Regions from separate parts of the Homo sapiens genome. Here all the other regions are linked to region 1. The links are contacts of gene promoters, found by promoter capture Hi-C in blood cells and fetal thymus (Javierre and others, 2016). All regions are on one chromosome and are shown on one strand. Each heading gives the region's core, a stretch centred on a gene start or on the middle of the fragment in contact. The rest is flanking DNA. Distances are from core to core; before and after follow the strand shown.

What was found. Contacts are between HindIII fragments. The CHiCAGO score rates a contact against its expected background, and 5 or more counts as called.
Region 2: a contact is called between a fragment that was not itself captured here and the fragment with the promoter of NRBF2 in region 1, in 2 of 17 cell types (M1 macrophages and activated CD4 T cells). The highest score is 5.4, in M1 macrophages.
Region 3: a fragment that was not itself captured here is called in contact with the fragment with the promoter of NRBF2 in region 1 in 3 of 17 cell types (total CD8 T cells, naive CD8 T cells and naive CD4 T cells); the score reaches 7.2 in total CD8 T cells.
Region 4: a fragment that was not itself captured here is called in contact with the fragment with the promoter of NRBF2 in region 1 in 1 of 17 cell types (naive CD8 T cells); the score reaches 6.1 in naive CD8 T cells.
Region 5: a contact is called between a fragment that was not itself captured here and the fragment with the promoter of NRBF2 in region 1, in 1 of 17 cell types (neutrophils). The highest score is 6.5, in neutrophils.

What each region holds. Positions count from the first base shown.
Region 1 is chr10:63,132,033-63,134,709 of GRCh38, reverse strand. It overlaps NRBF2 (nuclear receptor binding factor 2), which reads right to left and starts at 1,382. Exons shown (of 4, transcript NM_030759.5): 1 at 1,210-1,382. The coding sequence starts at 1,239. RefSeq lists silencers at 836-1,105, 1,316-1,565. The HindIII fragment of the contact is 9,214 bases long and covers 1-2,677 here.
Region 2 is chr10:62,580,531-62,583,207 of GRCh38, reverse strand. No RefSeq gene overlaps it. Among named protein-coding and RNA genes, the nearest start is that of ZNF365, 210 kb to the right of the region's middle. The HindIII fragment of the contact is 3,790 bases long and covers 1-2,677 here.
Region 3 is chr10:62,599,052-62,601,728 of GRCh38, reverse strand. No RefSeq gene overlaps it. Among named protein-coding and RNA genes, the nearest start is that of ADO, 200 kb to the left of the region's middle. The HindIII fragment of the contact is 184 bases long and covers 1,231-1,414 here.
Region 4 is chr10:63,659,248-63,661,924 of GRCh38, reverse strand. The region is part of intron 2 of LOC107984238 (a long non-coding RNA gene); the gene reads left to right. Among named protein-coding and RNA genes, the nearest start is that of REEP3, 140 kb to the right of the region's middle. The HindIII fragment of the contact is 196 bases long and covers 1,213-1,408 here.
Region 5 is chr10:62,616,289-62,618,965 of GRCh38, reverse strand. No RefSeq gene overlaps it. Among named protein-coding and RNA genes, the nearest start is that of ADO, 190 kb to the left of the region's middle. The HindIII fragment of the contact is 2,782 bases long and covers 1-2,677 here.

The DNA.
Region 1 (2,677 bases), core at 133-2,632:
AAGGGCTTATGGTCTGGTTATAATCGCTAACTCTTACACTGTACTATGTACTTAGTACAGTTCTAAGTGCTTTACACCTATTTACTCCTTTAATCCTCCCAAAAAACCTGAAGCCGAGTGAAGCCAAGTAGTTTGCCCAAGGTAACACAGATATCAAGTGACGAGGTTAGAATTCAAATCCAAGCAGCATAGCTTCAAAACCTAGAGTCTTAAACCACCTGACTCTACTGCTCTTCTAGGACTCAGAGTTCTAATGTGAGAAAAGAATCCTCTATAGAGCTTTCTTTCAATTCCACCATCGCAAATGAATTGCAAACCTGTGACTCAAAAGTTCTTCCTGTGTGCAACCTTAAGTAATCTGACTTTTACATCCAAAATGGGTAACCTCTCTGGAAAACTAAAAGATGCAATGGCCAGTCTGAAAAGAACTCATGCTTCCCGTTGTTAGTGGGGTTCTGTTGTGTTGTTTTTTAATTGCAACACCTGAAACGCCTTAAAACACAAGTAAACAGGCTATCAGCCATTTTCCTGAGAACAGCAAACACCTATTACACTTTCATGATGCCTAAATTGATGAATCTGAGCTAAATACAGGAACGGCTGTCTTTTTCCCAGCTGTCTCTAATATATTTGGAAGACGGTAGACTCAGTTTATGCATGTGAATGTATGTGAGAAATGAGGGGGAAGTGGAGGGTGAGGAGGGGGAAGTGGAGGGTGAGGAGGGGGAAGTGAAGGGTGAGGAGGGGGAAGTGGAGGGTGAGGAGGCTATTCACTCCTCCACCTCTCCAAAGCGGGGCGACTCAGACTCAGACCCTGCTGCTAGAACTTAAAACCAGTATCACACCATTTCTGCCTTGGCCGGCTTCAGTGCCTCTCCAGGCTGTAGGGAGGTGGCTACGTGGCGCTAAGAGGACTTCCCCCAGCCAGAGAGGAGGTGGCAGCCCCAGGTGGTGGCATCCCCTCGCCCGGGGCCCCGCGACAGGGGGCGCCAGGACTTCCCGGGGATCCCCCAGGAGGGCAAAGTCTGAAGTGGCTAGCCTGGAGCCGCAGTTGGGCCAGGGCCTGCCTAGCAGCCCCTCACAGCCTCTGCGACCACTCCTGCCAAACCAACCTCCCAGCCTAAAGGGTTAGCCGACGCGCCGGGGACGGGGCCGGGCTCCTGAGGCAAAGGCACCCAAGACGAACGCTATATTCTGTGGGACACTCACCAGGTTGAGGGGTCCTTCCATTACTTCCATAGACCCCGGGGTAAGCGGCGGCCTTAGGAAGGGGAGTAGTGGCGCCGGGGAACATGGAGGGGACTGCAAGGGAGCTCGACGCAGCCGCGGAGACTGCGGCCCCTCTCTGCGCCCCAAGAGCCAGCGATAGGCGCTGAAGGAGCAACAACCTCACCACTTCCTCCTCCGGCGCCGCGCCGCGGGCCCGCCCCCTGCGCCACCGCCGAGGCCACGCACGGCGCCATGACGTCACACGCGCAAAAGGCTGGTTCAAGGTGGGAATGAGGACAGGCAGTGGGTGGGGCCCAGGGAAGGCGGGGCACCAGCTGATGTACGCTTGCGAGCGGTCAATCTTTCCTCTCGCGAGAAGCGTTAGTTTAGGTTCTTAAAGTCTACACTGAAGTCACGTGAGGAGGTACAGCCTTGCTGTTGAAGACTTGAAATGGCTGTCTTCTGCAATTAGCTTCTCACGTTTCCTTTTAGACTGACTTTTCCTTAAATCTGCTAATCGTTACACCGTTACTTGTGGTCCTGTCCACACCTTTATCATTGTACATGATTCATTTTTTCAAAAGGCCGATTTGAGCAATTCTAGACCATGCACTGGACTAACCCCCCTAGAGGTCAGCACACTCGAATGATTTAGGGCTCTGCCCTCAAGTTGCTCACAAACTGATAGGGAAACAATTTTGGTCTAGCCAAATATAATACTGCATTCATTTAACAATTATGTGCCAAACAAAAGCTAGGTTCGTTCTGTCATGGAATTCACTGACAAATAGTTGTGATTTATGCTGGAAAGGGAACACATAGGGAGCTGTGATAGAGTAACCAAGGTGGAGTTGGGTGGTAAAGGAAAGCCTTTCATGGGGGGCGTGATTTTTTTTGAGAAAGTGTCTTGCTGACGCAATCTCCACTCACTGCAACCTCCCTCTGCCCGCCCCCTGCCCCAGGCGATCCTCACACCTCAGTCTCTTAAGTAGCTAGGAACTACAAGTGCTCAGGCCAGGTTAATTTTTGTATTTTTTGTAGAGATGGGGTTTCGCCATGTTGCCTATGCTGATCTTGAACTGCTGAGCTCAAGTGAGCTCAATGATCCGCCCTCCTGGACCTCACAAACTGATGGGATTATAGGCATGAGCTACCGCACCTGGCTAAGGGCGTAATCTTTAAGATTAAACCTTAAAATGCCAGTTAAACAAAGACCCTTCTCGACAAAGGAAATGTCTTATGCCTCAACTCTAAAGGCGGGGAGGTCGGGTGGCGGGAGCTGCAGCATTTCAGAGAGATGCAAAAGAAGATACCAGAGAGATAGGAAACTTCCAAAACATAGGTGTCCTTGCAGTGCACAATGAAACATTTGAATTTTACTCAAAGTGCATTGGGAAATAAGTAAAGGATATTAAGCTAGAGAATAATCTGCTTTAATTTACAGTTTTGAAAAGATTAATTTCCCTGT
Region 2 (2,677 bases), core at 134-2,633, 550 kb after region 1:
AGCAGCATGTGTCAGAAACAGAGAGGCCACATTCCTAAAAGAGTGGGGCCAAGATATATGCATTATGGACTTAACTCCTGACACATTTGGCACAAGTTGAAAAATAAAAGAAAAAAAAACCACCCACTGTCTCAAGAGGCCTTGGGCAGGAACATACAAGGCAAAACGTTTTAGTTGTAGACAAGAAAATGCTGGAGAGTCAGCAGGGGATGAGCTGGTCAGGAAATATCCACTTCCTGTGGACACTCCCAAGTTCTCCCGCGCTGGCCAACCCCCGTTGCAGATGATCCAGCCAACAAAACACTCCACCAAAGTAGCACTGTTGGCTCAGCCAACTCGAGTCAGCTGCGCCGATGACCCCACATGCCCAAGTGGAACCTTCTGGGTTCCTTCCTGAGGGATGTTCAAATAAACCAACAAGAAAGATTTGGATAGGAAATGTGGAGTTCTGGAGGCTAGGGTGGGCAGATGTGTAAGGCTGAGGCTAAAGATGAATTTCCTGACCCTCTCAGGCACACAAACAAGGAATTCAAGTTGACTTTACTCTGAAGAAATGGCTTAAAAGAAATGTTTTTTAACTAACGGTGGGTATTTTTCAATATATGGTTGAAGAATACGGTGACTCATCTCCATTCAGATGAAAACCTACCCCTGAAGTTTGCTGCATTAAATGGGAATTAGTATGCTAAGTCCATAAACCACAACCACCATTTTCAGTGTAAATCAGACTTGTCTCTTAAATTAAAAAAAAAAAGCAATTGCAGCAAGGAGTCATGATGAGATGCCTTGCCTTCAGTGGAAAGGGAAGTATGTTTTCTCTGGCCAGCCTACACAAAATCAGATACTTAATATGATTACTGAGAAGATGGAAAGATTTTCAGGAAAGACTCCTATTGCTCAGCTCCTACCAGCCTGCAAAGGAGTAAGTAGGAAGTCAAAAGGACCAGCCCACTAAAAGAAGGCTGAAAACAGGATCTCTGATTCCACTGAGCAGTTCTGTGAAAGCAGAACATACGAATGGATGGGTTAGGCTGGCAAGAAGTTCCATCAACCAACTAAGCAACCTACTTATTTTTAAGCACCTACTACAGGAGCGTGCTCAAAGGTAGGGTTGCTGCTCTCAAGAAGGGGTTGCATTTTGAGCCTTTGGCAAACCAAGAAAACAAGAAATGCTACAAGCATTTCCAACAGAAATTAGTTACAGAGGTGATAGAAGAGCTGAGATGCCAAGGAAGGACAATCCAATGACCCGGAGATGAGCACCAGCAGGAGGCCCTCCATAGCTCCTAGGTTGAAAGCAGCATTTCCAGAGGCACTGAGGCTGGGGTGAGGAGGCAGAGGTGGAACCAAGGTGGGTCTGATCTGTGGAATCTGGAGCTATGGAGGAGACCCAGCTGTTGCTGGAGAATGAGTTTGAGGCAGAGAATGAGAGGGAGAAACACCCAAACTTACCCTCACTCCCCACTGCCAATGCCTCACCAGTGCCTGTTGTTGACTGCACCAGGCAGAAGCCATCTCACACAGGAACCTGGGGAAGGCAGCCTGCAGGGGTCAGCCCCACAGCAAGGCAGAGCAGAGGAAGGGCAAGGAATAGATATGAGGGCGAGTAGGCCCAGGCCTGGCATGGTGAATGCATTTGGATCATTTTTTACCTTCACAACAATGACCTCACCTCGCCCTGGGCCAGACCATGACAAATCAATTGCAAGCCACAAATGCTGGCTGGGATGGACTCTAGGGTGAACCTCTGCCTCATCTTCTCGCCAGTTATTTAACTCAATTTGGGCTTAGCTCAAGACCCTAAGGAGGTCCCTTAATTCTCTCAGGAGTGAAGGAACTATTTGTAGCCTGATATACATACTGTCTTTTCACAGAAGTCTTGGAACTGACTGTCCTCACTCTTGTTCCCCATGGAGAATTCCAGGATCTAACTGGCCCCATGGCTACATAAGCAAAATCCTGCCTGGCTTTGATTTCATCTATGGCCGGCTCTGCCAAAACCAGCTCCACAAAGACGATGGATGCTCCAGGATGCCTAAATTGATGCTTTCAGGGCCCTAGTGACTAGCCAATGGCATCCCTCTAGCCTGAATATTTCTGAGTTAATGTCCCAAGCCCATGTTGCTAAATTCAACCTTATCAATATTACCAGTGCAGAGGCTCTAGTGTTCCGTACAAGCTGGATAGCCTCAGAATTACTTAACCTCTTCAAATCCCCGTCTCCTCATCTGCACAATTGCAGCAAATACAGGTCTGTTGTGTGGATTAAATGAGACTATGTCTGTTAACATACTTATTCTGGTGCCTGGCACACAAGCAGTGCTCAATAAATGACACAGTTAACTCTTTATCAGTGAGGTTTCCTCTAGTGGCAAGTGACAGAAGCCAGTTCAACTTAACTTAAGCAAAAAAGGCCCAGCATCTGGGCCAGGAGCTCATCCATGGTCTTCACTATGGGTTCTCTCTAATCACTTGGCTCTGTAGTCTTGGCTCTGTAGTCTCTGATTGGTTTCATTTTCAGGCAGACCATCCCCATGAGATGGCAAGATGAATGGTGAGACATCTTCCCAGCTGAGCAACCACAGGAGAAAGAGATCCCAAGAGTTTTCTGAAGATCCTGGAATGGGGCTTCATTGCCTGTTTGCATCACACTTCCAGCCCTGAATTAGTCACTGTG
Region 3 (2,677 bases), core at 73-2,572, 530 kb after region 1:
AAAATGTATCGTAGACCTAAATATAATAGCTGAAACTATAAAACTCTTATAAGAAAACATAAAAGCAAATCTTTGTGACCTTGCATTAGGTAATGGTTTCTAAAAGTAATAATGACAAAAGAAAAAGATAAATATTGCATTTCATCAAAATTAAAACAACCAGAGAGTGAAAGAAAATGTTTACAAATTAAGAGACTTGATAAGATACTTTTATCCAGAGATGTGAAGTCTCATAACTCAACAATTGCTATGGTTTGAGTGTGTCCCTTCCTAAATTCTTGTTGACACTTATTCCTGTTGTAGTGATATGAAGAGACAGGGCTTTTACAAAGTGATCAGGTCAAGAGGGTTCTGCCCATATGAATGGATTAGTGCCTTACAGAAGGGCTTGAGAAGGCAAATTTGTTTCTTCTGCTCTTCTGCCATGTGAGAACACAGTGTTTGTCCCCTTTTGTCTTTCCATCCTTTTTACTGTGTTAATGGCATCTTTCTACCTAGATGGTGCCATCTATGAGGAATGGGCCCTCACCAGGCACCAAACCTGCTGGCACCTTGATCTTGGACTTCCCAGCCTCCAGAACTGTGAGAAGTAAATTTCTGTTCTTTATAAATTACCCAGTCTTATGTATTTTGTTATAGTAGCACTAATAGACTGAGACAACAGTAAAAAGAAAAATAACTGAATTCAAAAATGAACAACAGACTTGAATAGAAATTATTTCCAAAGAAGATAAAAAGTAGGTAATCAGCATATGAAAGATGCTGAACATCATTAGCCTTAAGAGAAATGTATTTCAAAACCACAATGAAATACTACTTCATATCCACTTGGGTGGCTAAAGTCAAAAAGATAATAACAAGTGTTGGTAAGAGTGTGGAGATTCTGGCATCCTCATACATTGCTGGCAAGATTAGAAAATGATGCAACCACTTTTGAAAACAGTTTGGCAGCTCCTCAAAATGTTAAAATAGAGTTGCCATATGACCCAGCAATTCCATTCCTTGAACTATGACATGAGGCAATAAATAAACTCTTACCGTCCTTAGCCATTGAGATTTGGGAGTTGTTTGTTACAACTCTTAACTTACCCTAACCAATACAACAATAATGAAAATTATCTCAGGATTTCTGAAAATTTTCTTAAGAACCATTTATCATTTTTAATTGACAAAGTTAGCCTTATAGAGGTTGAAATATTATCGATAGTCTTTAAGGATACACATTAAGCTTGGAAATCTTATATTCAAAAATATTCAAATTTGTCTGCAAAGCAGTTGGATAAAAGTCACAAATGATTTCAGTGTCTGTAGTAGCAATGTGTAAATATAAAAATGTTTCAATGTTTTTATAACATCAATTTCCACATCAGCTGGAAGAACTTCAAATGTGCTATTCATGTGATTTTTGCAAGCTTATGCCTTTGGCACCCATCCTCATTAATTTTATATGGCAGTTATTTGGTAATTTCCATAAAATATTCTTAGAAGGCATATGTTTTTCATTTCCAAAGTTTGTATTAATAATGTAATATGACCATACCAATAATCTTATCAACAGATATCCTATTGCTCATAATAGAAAAAAAACCCCACAAAACAACCATTAACCTGGCAGGATGTCAAGGTCAATAACTTTCACATTAAATTTAGTGTTAAACTTTTTAAAAAACAGCTTTGTTGAAGTATGACTTACATACCATCAAATTCACTTATTACAAGTGAGCAATTCAATGGTTTTTAATAAATTTGCAGAGTTGTTCGCCCATCTCCACCATCCAGTTTTAGAACATTTCCATCACCCAAAACAAATCCTTTGCTTCTATCTGCAGTCACCCTCCCCTCTTTCTCCCAGCCCCAGGCAACCACTAATCTACTTTCTGTGTGCATAAATTTGCGTTTTCTAAACATTTTATATAAATGGAATTATATAATATATAGCCTATTGCATCTGCTTTTTCTTTACTTAGCACAGTGTCTTTGAGTTTCCTCCATGTTGTAGCATGTCACAGTGTCAATTCCTTTTTATTACTGGGTAGTGTTTCATTGTGTGGATGCACCAGAGTTTATTTATTCACTTGTCAGTTGATGAGCTTTGGCTTATTTCCAGCTTTTGGTGATTATGAACAAAGCCTCTATAAACCTTTATATAGAGCTTTTGTTCAAACATAAGTTTTCAGTACCTGCCTAGAAGTGGGATATTTGGGTCAAACCATAAGCATATGTTTAACTTTATTTTTGAAACTGCTGAACTGTTTTTCAGATTGGCCATACCAGCAAAAGCTGTGAGAGTTCAGTTGTTCTGCATCCTCAACAGCACTTGGTATTTTCAGGGACTGCTAAAACCTGTTTTATTAGGTATGTGGTGGTATCCCACCACACTGTGGTTTTAATTTTCATTTCCCTAATGAGTAAATGTGTTCAGTCTCTTTTCATTTGCTCGTTTGCCATATGCATATTTTTGGTGAAAGATCTATTTAAAACTTTTGTCTATTTTTTAATCGAGTTGTCTTTGTCTTATTTATTGTAAAAGTTCTTTGTAAATTCTGCCACAAGTACCTTATCAGCATGTTATTTGCCAAAGTTTTCTCCTAGTCTGTGGATTGTCTTTTCCATGTTCTTAGTGATGTCTTTGGAAGCACAAGAATTTTTAATTTTGATGAAGTCCAGTTCACCAGTT
Region 4 (2,677 bases), core at 61-2,560, 530 kb before region 1:
GCAACCTCCACCTCCTGGATTCAAGTGACTCTCCTGCCTCAGCCTCCCAAGTAGCTGGGATTGCAGGCATGCGCCACCATGTCCAGCTAATTTTGTATTTTTAGTAGAGACAGGGTTTGTCCATGTTGGTCAGGCTGGTCTCGAACTCCCAACCTCAGGTGATCTGCCCGTCTCAGCCTCCCAAAGTGCTGGGATTACAGGCATGAGCCACTGTGCCCGGCATGCCCAGCTATTATTTGTAATTTTTTTTTATTTTTTATTTATTTATTAGTAGAGATGGGGTTTCACCATATTGGCCAGGCTGGTCTCGAAATCCTGACCTCATGATCCGCCTGCATCAGCCTCCCAAAGTGCTGGCATTACAGGTGTGAGTCACCACGCCCGGCCTCTTCTTGATGTTTTAATCCTTCCTGAGTTTGGTCAGCTCACTCTTAAGTTATTCTAATTCTAATCTGTGTAATTATTTCACATATTTTAATTTTTTCCTGAATTTAAAAAGTCATTTTGAAATATTCACTCACCTCTTTTACCTGCTTTGTGGGCATGTTTATTTGGTGTGCTCTCATCTGTAAGAAAATTACTTTGTTCCTCATTATCTTTTTATGATAAAAAGTTTGTACAGAATTCAAATCTATGTTTTTCTGTTGCTGATTTTTAGGTGAAGGCAGACTGAACTTTTAGGAAGGAAGGGTGGGTCAGAATAGCTTTTCTACCTCATGACTCTAGAGCAGTGTTAGCAAACCATGGCTCATGGACTAAATTCAGCTCATCATCTGCTTTTCTAAGTCTTATTGAAATACAATCCTGAGGGCCGGGCGTGGTGGGTCACGCCTGTAATTCCAGCACTTTGGGAGGCTGATGCGGGTGGATGACCTGAGGTCAGGAGTTCAAGACCAGCCTGGCCAACGTGGTGAAACCCCGTCTCTACAAAAATACAAAAACTAGCCAGGCGTGGTGGCACACGCCTGTAATCCCAGCTACTCAGGAGGCTGAGGCAGGAGAATTGTTTGGACTCAGGAGACAGAGGTTGCAGTAAGCCAAGATCACGCCACTACACTTCAGCCTAGGAGACAGAGCAAGACTCCGTCTCAAAGAAAAAAAAAAAAAAGAAATATAGTCGTGATTATTTGTTTACATATTATCTGTGGCCACTTTTATGATAAAATGGGAGAGTTGAGTCATTGTGACAAAGACCATGTAGGTCTCAAAGCTTAAAATACTTACTATGTGATCTCTGCTCTCTCTTCTTTGCTCACAATTTTGACTTCTTATCTCCTGGCTCTGTTCTTCTCCCTCACTTCTATCTGAATCTTTTTCCTTTGCCCCTCCCTGGGCTGTCTGTCCTGCTCAGTTTGGTCTACTCCCAGCAGTTCTTCCTCAATATGGAACTTTGTCTTGAAAGGAAGCTTCTGCTGGTTAATTTCTTTCTTTCTTTTTTTTTTTTTTTTTTGTTGTTGTTGTTCGTTTGTTTGTTTATTTTTTGAGACAGAGTCTCACTTTGTCGCCCAGGCTGGAGTACAGTGGCATGATCTCGGCTCACTGCAACCTCCATCTCCTGGGTTCAAGTGATTCTCTTGCTTCAGCCTCCCAAGTAGCTGGGATTACAGGTGCCCACCACCATACCCGGCTAGTTTTTGTATTTTTAGTAGAGGCAAGGTTTCACCATGTTGTCCAGGCTGGTCTTGAACTCCTGACCCCAAATGATCCGCCCACCTCGGCCTCCCAAAGTCCTAGGATTACAGGCCTGAACCACCACGCCGGGCCCTGCTGGTCAATTTCAAGAGTTCACAAGGCCAAGACTACTCCATCCCTTTCAGAACTTATCACTGTATTGTCCTTCTACTTACCCACAAATTGGAGTTTGTACAAACTCCTCTCAGGTTAAGCTGCTTTTCTCAAGTTGGCCAACTATGCTTTCCAGTGAGTATCTCTCTATCTAATGGTCATTTTGAGATTCTACTTTGCTTGGATCTGTCAGATGCCCAGTGCTTCCCATGTAAATGCTGATACTATACAGGTCTTATTACTGGTATTTTGTCCCTATCTGCTTATACTTCGGGGTTGATGGCAGTACTTTTTCACTTCGCTTGTTTTGAGTTTGTCAATAGGCTTTGGCTTAGCTATCCTAGTTTTATTTTTATGGGAGAGGGGTGTGGTTATGGGGCATTTAAGAACTAAAGAACTATTTCACTACTACTACCATCTTGCCAGAATTCCTAAGATTTGTATTTTAAACCCAGATGAAGTACTAACTAGCTGAAACCTAGATGAAAAGCTATGCAGGGAATGAATTAGATTGTCAATAATCTCTCCCAGCTCTAAAACATTATGATTCTAATTTTCACTCTTGCCAGTAACCAGTCTGTTCATCCCAGAAACTAGCATTTATTGAGCTTCTATTTTTTGCCAGTGCTGGGTTTAGGTTTTTGTTAATATAATGATGAACAATTCATATGCCTTGTTCTCAAGGAGTTCACAGTCCAGTGGAGGAAATAGATGTACACAGACAATTATAATGCAACATAATTTTGTGTGGTAGAGAGTAATGAAACATTTGTATGGGCATCTAGAGGTGAAAGTATCAAACTCTGCTTTATGGAGTATGACAAAGGCTTTGGAAAGGAGACAGTGCTTGAGATGAGTGCTGAAGGATAAAGGTCACCAAGTAGAGGAAATT
Region 5 (2,677 bases), core at 134-2,633, 520 kb after region 1:
TTTGAACACAGGAAGGATACACTCAGAGGTCTCATCTGTTGTCTGTCTGTGGGTGACACCCCATTTTTTCAGCATGGAATTTTACTTAGCCACACTGGGAAAGCTGAGTGGCTTCCCTGGGGTTTTGCTCTCCTTACTGCAGGATTATATCATGCAGAAGAGTCTGGAGCATGGGTTCTGAAAAGGCTCCATGTGGCCCCCAGGCACCGCCAGCTTGGAGTCTAGATCCGGAGACTCACAGTCTGGGAAACGTACACAACAGCATCTCAGACAATGATGCCCCAGGCTCACAGGAACGAATGAAAGCAGTGCTGCTCATGTATGTGTGTATTGGGGGGGATGAGAATAATTGAACTTCTAGTTCAGATTGCCTATTAATTTAAGATTTGCTTCTCTTTGAATCAAACTTAAGTTTATAACTTGAACTAGTCCATTCATTTACCACGTGGTGTTCTGTCCCAGGGCACACAGAAATGCCCCCAGGGCACACTGGTGGATCTTCGGGTATTGTTTGAAGCAGGTTCCGAAGGCCGTCCTTGTTACTGGGACTAGAATGGTTAAGAAAACTCTCGTGCGACTTTGCTGCAAAAACAGACATTTCAGGGCTTCAAGCAGGAAGAGTTATGGTGCTATAAGATGAGGATCTCAGTTCCAAATGGACCCCAATCAGGAAGTGACTCCATCTGCCAAAAGGAGAAGCTCTAGCTTTCCAATCATTGCAGGGTGCAGGCAGTACAGTTAGCAAGAAGCCATGGGGCGTTCATCTTAGACAGAGAAGTCATTTCTGGGTTAAATAATAGACTAGCAGCCAGTGTGTTTTGGAACATATTTGAAAAATCATTTAAGCCTCAAATCCTACTGATAAGCACATGGCACCTAAGAGCAAACACATTAGCAGAGACTGAGTCTAATGACTTCAAATAGGAAGGAGGATCCTAAAACAAGGACAACATCCGTGCGAGTCCAACAGCACCGGGAATAGCACTGTGGGATACAGGAAAGAGTCTGCAAGGACAGCCACGCTGGGCCGTGGCAACGTCTGTTCATAACACTGCCTGGTGGTCACTGGCAGGCCACAGAGGAGCACCTATGAGTTTGTATCAGAACCCACAAGCTGTCAGCTGTCACTGCCCTCCTCTCTAAGCTCTTCTCTGCTCTCCACCAATTCAAACTCTGTCTGCACTAAAGTATTAAGAAATACTATGTGTGTTGCAGGGCGGGGCGGGGGTGGGGGTGGGGGGGCTGGTTATTGATAGTCCTGCAGGGAAGCTGGGTGAGGAAGTTCTTATCATACAATACTTGAAACCGGGTAAAGTGTGTTGAACACACTTCTTCTCCTCCCAAGCCCTTTTCTGAGGGCCTTCAGTGAGGCCTTCTTTTCCTGTGATTCTTCCCCAAACAGACCTCAGCCCAATTCTCACCTTCTCCTTTCTTCCTCTCTCCTGGATGTTTTCTTCCTGTGACACCCAAATCCTCCTTCTCTTATCTGAAGAGTGGTTTCCTACTACCTTCTGGAACTGGGGCACCTGCTGGCACCCAGCCCAGGAGGCTCCCTTCCACCCCAGTGGCAGGCTTATCAAAGTGCATCTCAGTCCCAGCAGCTCTCTTGCTAAGAGGGGCTTCCTCATGCCCTGCAAAGATTAATTCACTCAGCACATACTTGGGGCCTACTTTGTGCCAGGATCCTCTTCTGGTGAACAAAACAGATAACAATCACAGCTTTTGGAGCTTCCATTCTCATGGAGGAAATCAAGGTTTATCTAATACATACACATTGCCAAATGATGTGTGTGTGTGTGTGTGTGTGTGTGTGTGTGAATCAGCAGACAAATCTAGATAATTCTCACTCCAACATGTGGGTTCTGTCATTGTCAATCAATCCTTCTGGCATTTTCGACATCTAATTGCTCTTCTCCTGTAAGGAGATGGGTGGATAGAGAGCAGCTCAGCTGGGGGTAATTCCTACAAGGGTTTTACAAAGCATGCTACCTCAGGGCCTCTCACAGATGCGGTCTTTAGAACAGTATGGCCTAGATGGGCATGGCAGAGCAGGGCTGAGTGGCCAAGGGGGAAGAGGATATTATGGGGGAGCCAGGAAATCAGAACGAGCAAAGCAAGGAGTGGTGGAACTGCATATGAGAAGTAGTACAAGAAAATACTGGAGGCTAGCCGGGCGTGGTGGCTCATGCCTGTAATCCCAGCACTTTGGGAGGCCGCAGTGGGCAGATCACTTGAGGTCAGGAGTTCGAGATCACCCTGGCCAACATGGCAAAATCATGCCTCTACTAAAAATACAAAAATTAGCCGGGCATGGTGGTGCAGGCCTGTAATCCCAGCTACTAGGGAGGCTGAGGCAGGAGAATCACTTGAACCCAGGAGGCGGAGGTTGCAGTGAGCCGAGATCACCCCACTGGCCTCTAGCTTGGGTGACAAAGTGAAGGAAGGAAGGAAGGAAGGAAGGAAGGAAGGAAGGAAGGAAGGAAGGAAGGCGAAGGAAGGAAATACTGGAGGCAGAAAGGAGGTGGCTTTGTAGGTGCCTGAGGTTGAGCCAGATTCCTTTAAGGAAATGATTCTAGATACACACTCCACACCTGAAATATCCTTTCCCTTCTTCCTCTCCACTTAGCCCTTCAAATCCTCCTCTTTGCACAAGCCCCACAAAGACAGGGATCTTGTC